Linked DNA regions of Homo sapiens: all the other regions are linked to region 2. The links are contacts of gene promoters, found by promoter capture Hi-C in blood cells and fetal thymus (Javierre and others, 2016). All regions are on one chromosome and are shown on one strand. The core of a region is centred on a gene start or on the middle of the fragment in contact, and the rest is flanking DNA. Distances in the headings are between cores, read along the strand shown.

The links. Contacts are between HindIII fragments. The CHiCAGO score rates a contact against its expected background, and 5 or more counts as called.
Region 1: a contact is called between a fragment that was not itself captured here and the fragment with the promoter of ATP13A1 in region 2, in 1 of 17 cell types (M0 macrophages). The highest score is 9.6, in M0 macrophages.
Region 3: a contact is called between a fragment that was not itself captured here and the fragment with the promoter of ATP13A1 in region 2, in 1 of 17 cell types (M0 macrophages). The highest score is 5.8, in M0 macrophages.
Region 4: a fragment that was not itself captured here is called in contact with the fragment with the promoter of ATP13A1 in region 2 in 1 of 17 cell types (monocytes); the score reaches 5.7 in monocytes.
Region 5: a contact is called between the fragment with the promoter of ZNF565 here and the fragment with the promoter of ATP13A1 in region 2, in 1 of 17 cell types (M0 macrophages). The highest score is 13.3, in M0 macrophages.

Annotation. Positions count from the first base shown.
Region 1 is chr19:36,147,082-36,149,781 of GRCh38, forward strand. It overlaps CAPNS1 (calpain small subunit 1), which reads left to right. Exons shown (of 11, transcript NM_001749.4): 10 at 2,497-2,555. Among named protein-coding and RNA genes, the nearest start is that of COX7A1, 4.0 kb to the right of the region's middle. The HindIII fragment of the contact is 2,849 bases long and covers 27-2,700 here.
Region 2 is chr19:19,662,336-19,665,035 of GRCh38, forward strand. It overlaps ATP13A1 (ATPase 13A1), which reads right to left and starts at 1,341. Exons shown (of 26, transcript NM_020410.3): 1 at 936-1,341. The coding sequence starts at 1,331. RefSeq lists enhancers at 508-557, 689-1,671, 943-1,044, 1,388-1,677 and silencers at 1,078-1,337, 1,778-1,827. The HindIII fragment of the contact is 4,289 bases long and covers 490-2,700 here.
Region 3 is chr19:34,973,212-34,975,911 of GRCh38, forward strand. It overlaps LOC124904700 (a long non-coding RNA gene), which reads right to left and starts at 416. Exons shown (of 2, transcript XR_007067237.1): 1 at 1-416. The HindIII fragment of the contact is 2,908 bases long and covers 1-2,700 here.
Region 4 is chr19:36,128,322-36,131,021 of GRCh38, forward strand. LOC105372385 (a long non-coding RNA gene) reads right to left here. Exons shown (of 3, transcript XR_935954.3): 3 at 1-37. Among named protein-coding and RNA genes, the nearest start is that of CAPNS1, 10 kb to the right of the region's middle. RefSeq lists an enhancer at 1-159. The HindIII fragment of the contact is 8,615 bases long and covers 1-2,700 here.
Region 5 is chr19:36,213,406-36,216,105 of GRCh38, forward strand. It overlaps ZNF565 (zinc finger protein 565), which reads right to left and starts at 1,260. Exons shown (of 5, transcript NM_152477.5): 1 at 1,217-1,260. It overlaps ZNF146 (zinc finger protein 146), which reads left to right and starts at 1,701. Exons shown (of 4, transcript NM_007145.3): 1 at 1,701-1,791. RefSeq lists enhancers at 1,215-1,644, 1,755-1,944. The HindIII fragment of the contact is 6,757 bases long and covers 1-1,447 here.

The DNA.
Region 1 (2,700 bases), core at 201-2,700, about 16 Mb after region 2:
GCAATCCTCCTACCTCAGCCTCCCAAAGCTTTGGTGTTACAGGCATGAGCCATTGCATGTGGCCTTCTGAGTGTTAGTGTACTGAATGCTGAAGACATGGCTGGGAAGTGGGGATTACTGTCCTTATTTTGTGAAGGAGGAACTTAGGATTCAAGGAGGCAAATTTTCATGCTCATAGTCACCCAGCTAGGAAGTTGTAAAGCCAGAATTTGAACTTGGATCTATCTGAGATCTGAGCTAAGTAAGAGAAGGTAGGAGCAGTGAGCATGATTAGGTCATGCAGGATTGTGGGTGCCAAGTTTGGGGGTGCTCAAACTCTACCAGAGACATTGGGGAGCCATGGCAGGTTCTAGGCAGAGGGAGGACAGGGTCAGGTTTGGCTTTAGAAAGATCCCTTGGCCTCGGCTGGGCACGGTGGCTCACGCCTGTAATCCCAGCACTTTGGGAGGCCGAGGAGGGCGGATCACGAGGTCAGGAGTTCGAGACCATCCTGGCTAACACAGTGAAACCCCATCTCTACTAAAAATACAAAAAATTAGCCAGGTGTGGTGGCGGGCGCCTGTAGTCCCAGCTACTTGGGAGGCTGAGGCGGGAGAATGGCATGAACCCAGGAGGCGGAGCTTGCAGTGAGCTGAGATCTGCCACTGCACTCCAGCCTGGGTGACAGATCGAGACTCCGTCTTAAAAAAAAAAAATCCCTTGGCCTCCAGGCCGGGTGCAGTGGCTTATGCCTGTAATCCCAGCACTCTGGGAGGCTGAGGTGGGCGTAAAACCTGAGGTCAGGAGTTCAAGACCAGCCTGGCCAACATGGCGAAACCCCGCATCTACTAACGATACAAAAGTTAGCCAGGCGTGGGGGCGTGTCTGTAGTCCCAGCTACTCAGGAGGTTTAGGGAGGGAGAATTGCTTGAACCCAGGAAGCGGAGGTTGCAGTGAGCAGAGGTCATGCCATTGCACTCCAGCCTCCAACCTGGGTGACAAGAGCGAGATTCCATCTCAAAAAAAAAAAAAGAAAAAAAGATCCCTTGGCCTCCAGAGAGCCCACAATGCATGAAAAGTAACAGAGGAAAAGAAGCAGGTATGTGAGATAGCAGGGAGGTGAAGGGAGTGGACAGACAAGGTTGATGCCACAAGTCACATAAGAGGGGCCAGGAAATAGCCACTGGATCTACCAGCAAGAAGGCTGATAGTCGGGAGGATCATTTGAGTCCAGGAGTTTGAGACCAGCCTGGGCAATGTAGTAGGACTCCATCTCTACAAAAAAAAAAAAATATATGTATATAGACATAGCCGGGCATGGTGGCACATGCCTGTGGTCTCAGTTGCTCGGGAGGCTGAGGTAGGAGAATCACTTGAGCCCGGGAGGGTGAGGCTGCAGTGAGCTATGATCTTGCCACTGGACTCCAGCCTGGGCCACAGAGACACCGTCTAAAAAAAAAAAAAAAAGGGCTGGGCATGGTGGCTCACTCCTGTAATCCCAGCACTTTGGGAGGCCGAGGTGGGCGGATCACCTGATGTCAGGAGTTTGAGACCAGCCTGGCCAACATAGTGAAACCCCGTCTCTACTAAAAATACAAAAAAATTAGCCAGGCGTGGTGGTGCACGCCTGTAGTCCCAGCTACTCAGGAGGCTGAGGCAGGAGAATCACTTGAACCTGGGAGGCAAAGGTTGCAGTGAGCCAAGATCGTGCCACTGCACTCCAGCCTGGGCAACAGAGTGGGACTCTGTCTCAAAAAAAAAAAGAAAGAAAGGCAGCCAGGGTGTGCAGGACGCTGTGGGTATGGACACCTGAGGGTGGTGGTAACTGAGCGGAGATAGTGTAGTCATCATGTCTAGATTCCCTGTGGGTGGGGAACATGGAGTCAAGTTTCAGGGCAGGCGTGGGGACCTACCTGTAAGACTCTAGGGGCAGGAAGTAGAGTGTGCAGAGCCTCCCTCTAGTAGCCTGTTAGGCTTAGAACTGGAGAGGATGGAGCATAGATGTCAGTAGGAGGCTGGGGCTGGGCAGAGGTGATATCAGTACACAGAGGCCATTATTGAGGAGGGTAACAGATTGGATTCCAATCCTGATTTCTTCACTTTCTTGCTATGTGACCTGGGGCATGGCCCCTCCCTTCCTGCCTCATTTCTTTTTTTCCTGTTTTTAATTTTTAGTTTTTTTAAAAAGCAGAGATGAGGTCTCTGTTGCCCAGGTTGGTCTCGAACTCCTGGGCGGCTCAAGTGATCCTCCCATCTTGGCCTTCCAAAGTGTTGGGATTATAGGTGTGAGCCACCACGCCCAGCCTGTGCCTCATTTTAAAATGACACTTATCTCACAGAGTTGGATTAAATCAGCCAATACCTGGAAAGCACTTTACCCCATGCTTGGCACACAGTAAATACTCAGTGAAGTGCCAGCTGCTATGATTGTCATCCCATGTATTTGTGTAATGTTATTATGCCAAAAACCAGTCTCCTTCCTTCCCTGCCGCCAAACCTCTGCATCTCCTCCTCCAGGTGCCTTCAAATCTCTTGACAAAGATGGCACTGGACAAATCCAGGTGAACATCCAGGAGGTAAGGACCCCCATATTGGGGTATGGGTGCCTGGGAGGACCCCACCCCTCAGCCCTTCATACCAGCTCTGAGCTGCAGTCCCCTTCCTCCTATTTTGCCAGCCGTCCCTGGGTGAGGGCAAAGGGGCTGGTGCTCTTGGGGTTCC
Region 2 (2,700 bases), core at 91-2,590:
ATTCTACCCACATTCAGAGCCAGCCAGGGTGGGGGGCTTCTGTCTTTCTGTAGCCCTTGATGCTGTTCCCTTTTCCTCTTCTTGAGGCAAACACACTCCTGGAATCAGAGGGGAAGCTTCCTGATATACCTCAGTGTCCATGGCTCCAAACCTGCTGGTGTCACCTGAGGCAGGCCCAGAGAGAGACGACACAGTCACTGCTTCAGGCCCAGGGAAGCTCACAGTCACCAACTCCTCCGACGACACTTGGTCACTCAGAACTCTAAACTGTGGGTCAGGAGCGCGACCTTGCTTGCTGTTGTATCCCCGACAGAACTCAGTATCACCACCCTCATTTTGCGGAAAGACATCATGTAAATGACTCGCTCATAAACACCTCTGCCTCTCTTCAACACTGTAATTAACTGCATTTCATGCTCCTTTCCATCACAGTATGGAAGACCACTAAGCACTGGACAGCAAGACTTGGTTCAGTCTAAGAACCAACTAAGCTTCATAGATGGGGGAAACCTATCCCAGTGATCTCGCCTTACACTTTGAAAACCAAGGTAGGAGACAGATGAGATGGAAGGTAGGGCCGTTTCCAGAACAAGAGTAGTCGCTAATATGGGAACTAGTATAAACAACTCCTACCTGACCTGGGCGACGTATGCTGGGCCCTGCGCTAAGCCTTTTACAAGTATTACATCACTGAATCTAAATGACCATAACAGGGAGGACTTCAGAAAAAGGAAATAACCCGCACCAGGCATGCACAGCAAGTCAGCAGTGGGGTCATGATTAAGCCTGCGCCAAAGTGTAGAGGGTGCCCCTGGGAATCCAGGCCAGGCAGATGAGTGGCCCAGGTCGCGATGGTGACCGACAGGAAGGCCGCAGCTGGGACCCACGGCGAGGCTCGACCGTGCTGGGGGTCGGGCTCGCGTGTACACACTTACCGGGGTGCAGGTGAGCGCGCAATGCGCGTGCACAGACCAATGCCCCGAGAGGACAGTGAGCGCGTGCGCGAGGCAGATGGTGGCAAGCACGAGCAGCGCAGCTTCGGGGATCTGCACCCAACTGCTGCCCCAGCCCCAGCAGCCAGCGGCTGCGGCACCCAACCAGGCCGGGTAAAGCAGCCCGGCGAATGGCAGCACCGTGAGGCGCCGCAACAGCGCCAACCGCCGGTACGGCCACACGGCAGCCACCAGCTCGTCACCGTTCGCTATGAGCGCCGGCCCGGCGGCAAGGAGCGCGCGCGGCTGCGGCCCGGGCTTGGGCTGCCCGTCAGGCCGGACCCCGCAAGGCCGGGCCCCGCAGGGCACCGCGTTGCCCACCGCCGCCGCTGCCGCCATCTTTCCTAGCGCCGCGCTCACTTCCGGGCAGAGGAACGCCTCACTTCCGAAGTTTTACTTCCGGTAAGCCCTGAGCGCCGCCATGGCAGCCTGGACTAGGAAGAGCCAGGGCAACAGAACAGGCTGGCCCCGGCAGGGACTACTTCGGGTGCCGCCATGACAGGCTGTGGCCGGAAGAAGAGGCTGGGCGTCGCCATGACAGAGAGGGACTGGAAGACCTAACGGTGCCTGCCTCCGCTGCCACGCCGGACTGAGACCGGAAAAGACAAGGCCGGCAAGGCGGGCTTGGGCGCCACCATGACAACCTGAACCAAAAAAAGCGAGCCCTCCTCCTTGACTACACCAGCACCACCTGTCACCAGGGGCGAAGCCTGGACCCTGCGGAGGCGGGGTCGGGAGCTTCGGAGTTCAGGAGGCGGGGCCCGGTGCGGGGGGCGGGGCTTGTGAGGGGCGGGGTCGGGGACCGCCCCGGAACACAACCACACCGGACAAGAGCCTTAATGTGATAGATAAGAATTACAAATACTAGCCGGGCGCGGTGGCTCACGCCTGTAATCCCAACACTTTGGGAGGCGAGGCGGGTGGATCACCTGAGATCAGGAGTTCAAGACCCAACATGGTGAAACCACGTCTCTACTAAAAATACAAAAATTAGCCGGGCGTGGTGGCACATGCCTGTAATCCCAGCTACTCGGGAGGATGAGGCAGGAGAATTGCTTGAGCCCGGGAGACGGAGGTTGCAGTGAGCCAAGATTGCTCCACTGCACTTCAGCCTGGCCAACAGAGCAAGACTGTCTCAAAAAAAAAAAAAAGAAAAATGAATTACAAAAACCACTTTAGGCCGGGCGCGGTGGCTCACGCCTGTAATCCCAGCACTTTGGGAGGCCGAGGTCAGGAGATCGAGACCATCCTGGCTAACGCGGTGAAACCCCGTCTCCACTAAAAATACAAAAAAAAAAAAAAAATTCTCCGGGCGTGGTGGCGGGCGCCTGTAGTCCCAGCTACTCCGGAGCCTGAGGCAGAATGGCGCGAACTGGAGAGGCAGAGCTTGCAGTGAGCGGAGATTGTGCCACTGCCCTCCAGCCTGGGCGACAGAGCGAGACTCTGTCTCCAAAAAAAAAAAAAAAAAAAAAAAGAAATTACCACTTTAACATAAAAAATGAAAAACTGGTGTTTACTTGAAATTATATACTTCTAGGCCGGGCGCGGTGGCTCACCCCTGTAATTCCAGCACTTTGGGAGGCCGAGGCGGGCGGATCACGAGTTCAGGAGATCGAGACCGTCCTGGCTAACACAGTGAAACCCCGTCTCTACTAAAAATACAAAAAATTAGCCGGGCGTGGTTGCAGGCGCCTGTAGTCCCAGCTAC
Region 3 (2,700 bases), core at 99-2,598, about 15 Mb after region 2:
CTTGGCTGGGTTCTGCTCCGGTCATTACAAGGCTGAAATCCAGGTGTCCGCCAGAAATTCTGTTAGCCAGGGCTTCTATCATCAGTTCTTCTCTGCAGGGCGCTGCTAGGGAGGTCCTGACCACCAGAGGGCACTAGAACCACAATCCCGGTCCCAGGGAACTTTGCTTGTGCTCCCGCCCCTTTCTGTCAAAATGCTGTCCGGCCACCAGCGGCAGCAGCGTCTGGGAACTTGTTTGAAAAGCAGAACCTCAGGACTTAAAACCAGACCTGCTGAATCAAAATCTGCATTTTGTCAACTCCCCCACCCAGGCAATTGGTGTGCACCCTTGAGGGCCAGGCTGTAACTCAGTGGTTCTCTACCTTGGCTGCGTGTTAGAACCACCAGAGGAAGTGTGTGTGTGTGTGTGTGTGTGTGTGTGTGTGTGTGTGTGTGTGTGTTTGAGATGGAGTCTCCCTCTGTCGCCCAGGCTGTAGTGCAATGGCGCGATCTCTGTTCACTGCAACCTCCGCCTCCCGGGTTCAAGCGATTCTCCCTCCTCAGCCTCCAGAGTAGCTGGGATTACAGGCTCCCACCATTACGCCCGGCTAATTTTTGTATTTTAGTAGAGACGGGGTTACACCATGTTGACCAGGCTGGTCTCGAACTCCTTACCCCAAGTGATCTGCCCAGCTCGGCCTCCCAAAGTGCTGGGATTACAGGTGTGAGCTACCGCGCCTGGCCCAGAGGAACTTTTAAAATCCCTGATGCAAGGGACTACCCCCAGAGATTTTGATTGCATTGGTCTGGGGTGCAGCCTGCTGCCCGGATTGTTAAAAGTTTCCCTGGGGATTTTACTGTGCAGTTAAGGTTGAGAAGGGCTGCAAGCCTGGGTCATTGCACACTGTAAGAACCTTGTGTATGAATGGAACTGTGCTATGGAACAACTCCACACCACCTGTGTGTGTAGGCATAGGAGAAACACATAAACCCTGACCCTCAAGGGTCTCCTGGAATGCAAGACCTCAGCCCTCAGGGGCCTTCAGATAAAGGTGCGGTCAGGGCAAACATGGAACACCAAGGACGTGTGATATTATTTTCCAGGTGCTTCAAAGACTCAAGTCAAACACCAACTGCTCAGATAGCAAATTCTAGTTCACCCACCCCACCCATGCTCAGTGATGGGGCTCACGGCAGTTTCCTGTAAGTGTTTGCTGGGCTCGCCTTTCTAACTCCACTGTGGGCCCCCTGAGAGAAGTAATGAGTCGGGTCCCCACTCAATGGAGCCCTGTTCGCAGTTGCTTTTGTGACGTAGGAAGAAACCAGCTGGTGGTGGAATTGGTGAGTTGTGCTCCAGGAAAGAAGGTGCCTGGAAGACAGAGATCAGCGATGTTAGGAGGCACTCTAAAAAAATATATTCTTTCCTATTTATATAGAGCTTCATGGTTCCCAAAGCACTCTTAGGTGCACTGTTGCATTTTTGTAACACCCATCTGCATTAGATTAGAGTTTATCTGTACAGATGAGGAAAACTGAGTGACAGAGGCGTAAATAGATATGCGGGAATTTGCATGAGTCAGGCAGAATTAGAACAAGAAATCGCCTTCCTAAATTTCCTAATTTCCTATATGCTGTTTCCAGGATGTAGCAATACCCAGCTTCTGACTTCTCTTTCCTCACCGTTGAGACCATTTCTGGGGGATTTTGTCTTCATTCTTTCTTTTTGTTCTCCTCCCCAAAATTGTGGGTTTGTTTAGTCATTCTGGAATTCTCTGTTAATCTCCCACCAAATGTCCATTGACGTACTTGATTTCTCATTTTTGAAGGAAGATTCACCAGGTGTAAATTCTTAATATATGCTAGCAAAGACAATGATTTCATCACATTATAAACTTCTCGAATGCAAGAAACTTATTTCCCATTTTATCTCTAGCACCTTTGACAAATATTTGTGGAATGAATGAATAATGAATGAAGGGGATTTGCAAAGTTAAATGTGAGTGAGGGAGGAAGCAGACCCAGGAAATTAATCTGGAGCCAGTCTGCAGGTGGTGTGGTGGGCGTGGTTGTAACCTCTGGACCAAGAGCTGTGAACGATGGTGCACAAAGAAATACTGTCAGCACCACAGAGAGTGGGTTTTATCTTCTCAAATAATGGCCAACTTTCCTGCATCTTCTTCCCTTTTCCTGCTCCTCTTGAGGATGTATTCCCTGCTCAAATGAAATGCTGAAACGTGGCTGGGCGCAGTGACTCACACCTGTAATCCCAGCACTTGGGGAGGCCGAGGCGGATGGATCACCTGAGGTCAGGAGTTTGAGACCAGCCTGGCCAACACGGGGAAACCCTATCTCTACTAAAAATACAAACATTAGCCAGGCATGGTGGTGCAGGCCTGTAATCTTAGCTACTCGGGAGGCTGAGGGAGGAGAATTGCTTGAACCCAGGAGGTGGAGGTTGCAGTGAGCCAAGATTGTGCCACTGCACTCCAGCCGGGGTGACAGAGTGAGACTCCGTCGCAAAAAAAAAAAAAAAAAAAGGGCTGAAACGTTCTTTGAAGAATTCAGCGAGCCTTTGGATACTGACTTTCAGTAAAGGCCTCCCCGGCTCCGTGCCTTTTTTTCTATAAAGTGTCCTTACTCTTCTGGGGTCAGAAACCCTTCCCCTTCTGGGGTCCCCAAACAATGCTCCTCCCTGAGACAAATGAGGTGTGGGAAGGATGT
Region 4 (2,700 bases), core at 156-2,655, about 16 Mb after region 2:
CCGCTCCCAAGCCTGTTCAAGCACGAGGCGTTTCCATCTAAAAAAAGAAAAGAAATCTCTTTTGCCGGGCGAGATGTCAGAGCCCCGGGAGCGAAAGTGTTGGTAATGTTAGACAGAATGAGTTCCTCTTCAAAAATCTAACTTCCTTGTCCTTTGCTCTATGAACTGTCCTTCCTGCAGAAACTGCCCTTACCGGGGAAACTGCCCCTCCCCGCCGCTGCAACCCATACCCCGCCTCTATTAGAAATAGGCAATCGGAATCAGCTTAGATTGTGAGGTCCAACCCTAGCCAACGGGGGTTAAAAACCCCTGCTCTCCTTTATTAGGTGTGCTTTTGGTACAGGTCTGGGCAGCACGCTTCTGCAGAAGTAAACTTTGCCTTGCTAAGAAACTTTTCTCCGAGTGCTGGTCTCTCTCTGTGGCACCAAGAACTTATTTCTAACAGTAAGAAGAATTTACTGAGGACAGCGTAGGCTTGAAAAAGAAAAGTTTTACTAGAAAGAATGCTGCCGGGCACTCACGCCTGTAATCCCAGCACTTTGGGAGGCCGAGGCAGGTGGATTGCCTGAGCTCAGGAGTTCGAGACCAACCTGGGCAATACAGTGAAACCCCATCTCTACTAAAATACAAAAAACTAACTGGGCATGCCAGCATGTGCCTGTAGTCCCAGCTACTTGGGAGGCTGAGGCAGGAGAATTGCTTGAACCCAGGAGGTGGAGGTTGCAGTGAGCTGACATCATGCCACTGCATTCCAGCTTGGGTGACAGAATGAGACTCCATCTCAAAAAAAAAAAAAAAAAAAAAAAATGAAGGAAAGAATGCTGCAGGCCAGGCAGGGTGGCTCACACCTGTAATCCCAGCACTTTGGGAGGCCGAGGCAGGCGAATCACCTGAGGTTGGGAGTTCAAGACCAGCCTGACCAACATGGAGAAACTACTAAAAATACAAAATTAGGCGGGCATGGTGGCCCATACCTATAATCCCAGCTACTTGGGAGGCTGAGATAGGAGAATCGCTTGAACCCAGGAGGCGGAGGTTGTGGCAAGCCAAGATCACACCATTGCACTCCAGCCTGGGCAACAAAAGCGAAACTCCATTTCAAAAAAAAAGAGCTGATTTTTTTGTTTGTTTTTTAGACAGCGTCTTGCTCTGTTATCCAGCCTGTGTGTGATCCCGGCGGTGTGATCTGAGCTCACTGTAGCCTCAACTTCCCGGGCTCAAGTGCTCCTCCCACCTCAGTAGGCCCCATGAATAGCTGAGACTACAGGCACATGCCACCACACCCAGCTAATTTCTGTATTATTTGTAGAGGTGGGGTTTCGCCATGTTGCTCAGGCTGGAGTGCAGTGGCACAATCTCGGCTCACTGCAGCCTCAGGCTCCTGGGCTCAAGCAATCCTCCCACCTCAGTCTCCCAAAGTGCTGGGATTCCAGGTGTGAGCCACTGCGCACGGCCAAGAATAAAGATTTTAATAAAGTAATGTGAAATTAACATGAAAAGCCAATAAGGAAACTGGGCAAATATTTGAAAAGACAATACATAAAAGAAACACCAATAGCCAAAAAACCATGAAAGCCAAGTTCACCCCCATTCATATTTGAAGAATGTTACATAAAATATTGAGACACCACCTTTTGCCTGTCAAATCAGGAAAGATGTTTATTTTTATTTTTTATTTTTGAGACAGGGTCTCTCTGTCATCCAGGCTGGAGTATGGGGCACAATTTCGTCTCATTGCAACCTCAAACTCCTGGGCTCCAGCGATCCTCCCACCCCAGCCTCCCAAGTAGCTAGGAGCACGGGCACACCACTATGCCTGGCTAATTTTTTCAAAACACTTTTTTGTAGAGATGGAGTCTTGCTATGTTGCCCAAACTGGTCTCAAACTCCTGAGCTCAAGTGATTCTCCCACTTCAGCCTCCCAAAGTGCTGGGATTATAGGCATAAGCCGCCATGCCACAAAATTTTACAAGAAAATTTCAGCCAGCATTTGACAAGATTCCAGGGGACATGAATGAAATACCTAAAGATAAAAGAGTTCCTTGAGGCCAGTTAAGGTGGCTCATGCCTGTAATCCCACCACTTTGGGAGGCCAAGGCAGTGGATCACAAGGTCAGGAGTTCAAGACCAGCCTGGCCAATATAGTGAAACCCTGTTTTACTAAAAATACAAAAATTAGCCTGGCATAGTGGCGGGCACCTGTAATCCCAGCTACTCAGGAGGCTGAGGCAGGAGAATCGCTTGAACTTGGGAGGTAGATGTTGCAGTGAGCTGAGATCACAGCAATGCACTCCAGCCTACAGAGCGAGAGACCCCTCTCAAAAAAAAAAAAAAAAAAAAAGGAGTTCCTTGACAAAAGAAATGTGGAATTTGCTGCCTTGAACTAAGTTAAATTAGCTGCTTTGTTGCAGGAATTTTCATTAATATGCTAGTCCATGATAACCTGTATAAAAGGATCCTCTTGGGCATTACTTTCTGGGTTTTTTGTTTGTTTTCAGAAACAGGGTCTTGCTCTGTCATCCAGGCTGGAGTGTCATGGTGTGATCATATATCATATCTCACTGCAGCCTCGAATTTCTGGGCTCAAGCTATCTTCCAGCCTGAACCTCCTGAGTAGCTAGGACTGCAGGTGTGTGCCACCATGCCCAGCTAATTAAAAAACTTATTTTTGTACAGATGAGGTCTCATTATGTTGCCTAG
Region 5 (2,700 bases), core at 10-2,509, about 17 Mb after region 2:
ACGAAGTCTCGCTCTTGTCCCCCAGGCTGGAGTGCGATGGCGCGATCTCGGCTCACTGCAACCTCTGCCTCCTGGGTTCAAGCGATTCTCCTGCCTCAGCCCCCTGAGCAGCTGGGATTACAGGCACCTGCCACCACGCCCAGCTAATTTTTGTATTTTTAGTAGAGACAGGGTTTTATCGTGTTGGCCAGGCTGGTCTAGAACTCCTGACCTCAGGTGATCCACCCGCCTCGGCCTCCCAAAGTGCTGGGATTACAGGTGTGAGCCACCGTGCCAGCCATTAATTTTTTTTTTTTTTTTTTGTACAGGCCAGGCTGGTCTCGAACTCCTGGGCTCAAGTGATCCTCCCACCTCGGCCTCCCAAAGGGCTGATGTGAGCCACCACACCCGGCCCTACATCCACTCCTGAGACACAGGACACAATCACAGACACCTCTATACCTTTCCAGTCACAATATCTTTCCAGTCACAATCACACACCCGCTAAGACACACCCAGTCACACAATCTACTCTCCACTGTGATACAGTTACTCCCGTATAGTCACAAGCCCCACACACCAACACCCACAAATGCCTCATATAGTCACAGTCACACACCCACTCAGGGGACACACGCCATCACTGGTACTTTACGGCACCCAGTCACAACTGAACTTTCACTGTGGACATACACACAGTCACACTCACACAAGCAACCCACACAAGCAGTGGCACCCCACTCCCGCATACACAGCACCACACACATACACACAAACACACACACCAAGGGATACAGGAATACACAAGCGGCGTCACCACACAGTCACAGGCACAGGCAATTGCACACGGCCACAGTGTCACACAACCAAAACCACGCACACACCTTGGAGACATGAATCACAACCGCACACCCGCAGTGGTCACACAGTCACAACTGTACTCACACCCCAGGAACAGGGCGAACAGGCCACATATACAACGGGGACACACGCAGTATCACCCCCGGTCACAAGGACCCTGCACCCCGATACTCTCTATCACACATGGTTACACAAAAACCACCAGACACCCTGGAGACAGGCGGTTACACGTGCACAGTTGCAGACACCCACACCCAGCCACACAGCCACAAAGACACATTCAGAACGGCGCATCCGCAGCCAGCTCCCGCCTGCGCGCACAGATTCGAGGCTCCGGACACGCCCCGGCCCCGCCCAGGACTCCCAGACCCCTCACCTTCTGCCTCCCCTGGTCGCGTCCGGGTCCTTGCGGAGCTAACTAGCTCGCCACGACGTCAAGAACGACGTAACGTCAGGCCGCTGTGGGCTCTGGGAATTGTAGTCCAGAGCTAGATCGGCCACGGACAGAATGGCGTTCTCTTATCTCTGAGTCGGGGCCTGGCTCGTTTTGACATTTTTGCGCCCACGAGTCTTCGGAGAGGGCGTCGCCACTCCAGACCTTCCAGCAAGCTTGAAGTCATCTGACGCTAAAGGACTACTTACCTCAAGAGCTCCATCGTCACAGAAGGAGGCGGCCAAGTTCGCGGGGGGAGGGGAGGAGACAGAGAGTCGACCAGTAAAGCCTCAAGGGAAATGTAGTCCAAGGCCTGAGAAGCGACGTTGCTGGTAATAGAAGGTAATTCAGTACCAGCCTGGGCCTGGCCGCGGTGACCGAGGCGGGCCGCGTCGCGGAGACTTCTGGGAGTGCTTCCTCGCTCTCCGAGTGCGCAAGCGCAGCGCACCGAGTGGACATTTTGGTCTTTGTCCGCGGGTCAGTACGGCCCCTGGGTCCACGTGGCGCGAAAGTAGGAGGTGGGATCTGGGCGTCTCGGGTCGGTCGGACCGGGGAGGTTAAAGGGGAGGATTCCTGATCTTTAGGGGCGCGGCGCGAGGGCAGGGAGTGGGTGTAAGAGCTTCTGGCCTACGTGCGGGGCGGAGATGGGGGCCTCTGAGGCGGGTTTGAGCGAGTGTGACCGAGTTTGTCCTCAAAGTTTGACCTGATGTTTGGGATTGTTGAGTGAATGTGAAACTGGGTGCGGGATTGTGTGTGATTGTGCCTAAGAGGGAGATGTAGGAGACCAGCATTGAGGTATAACGTTTGAGCTGCACTTCCCTTGTCGAAAGTGCTGATAATTATAACGGTGCCATCTTCCTGGAGCGTCTTTTTTACTTGAAAATTGAAGGGGTGGAAAAGCTAAGTGGTGAATAATTTTAAAACGAGTTTTTATATAAAAGCATTTCTTTTTAATTGGAGTGGCATGCAAATCACCGTGACTTTTTTTTTTAATTAAACGAGAGTGTTTCGAAGGAACTTTAGTTTCGGGGTGCCTACTTCAGACTATTCAAATCCCCATCTTTGGGGTACTTAAATAGGGCTGTTAAGCAAAGCCCTAGACTAAACAGCATTGTACGCTTTGAGAAGCAATCCCATATAACGGCGCCCAGGATGAGGGAGTCAACGGTTTTAGGTTAGGCACAGTTATCCTCATTTTTTGAAGAAAGCTTAATTGTTGCAGTGTTTATCTATGAGTCTGGACTAAATCCTAGGTGTCTTAATTCCTTAATGAGTCGAGGCGTTCTCAGGTTGTATGGATTTTGTGAAGTAATGGAGAATGCTACTGACGTCTCCAAAGATGCGTTTTCTAAGGAAATCACCCCGCCCCCGCTGTCGTCATTGACATAGTTTTAAATTACAAAAAGTTAAATAAAGTAATTGGGTAC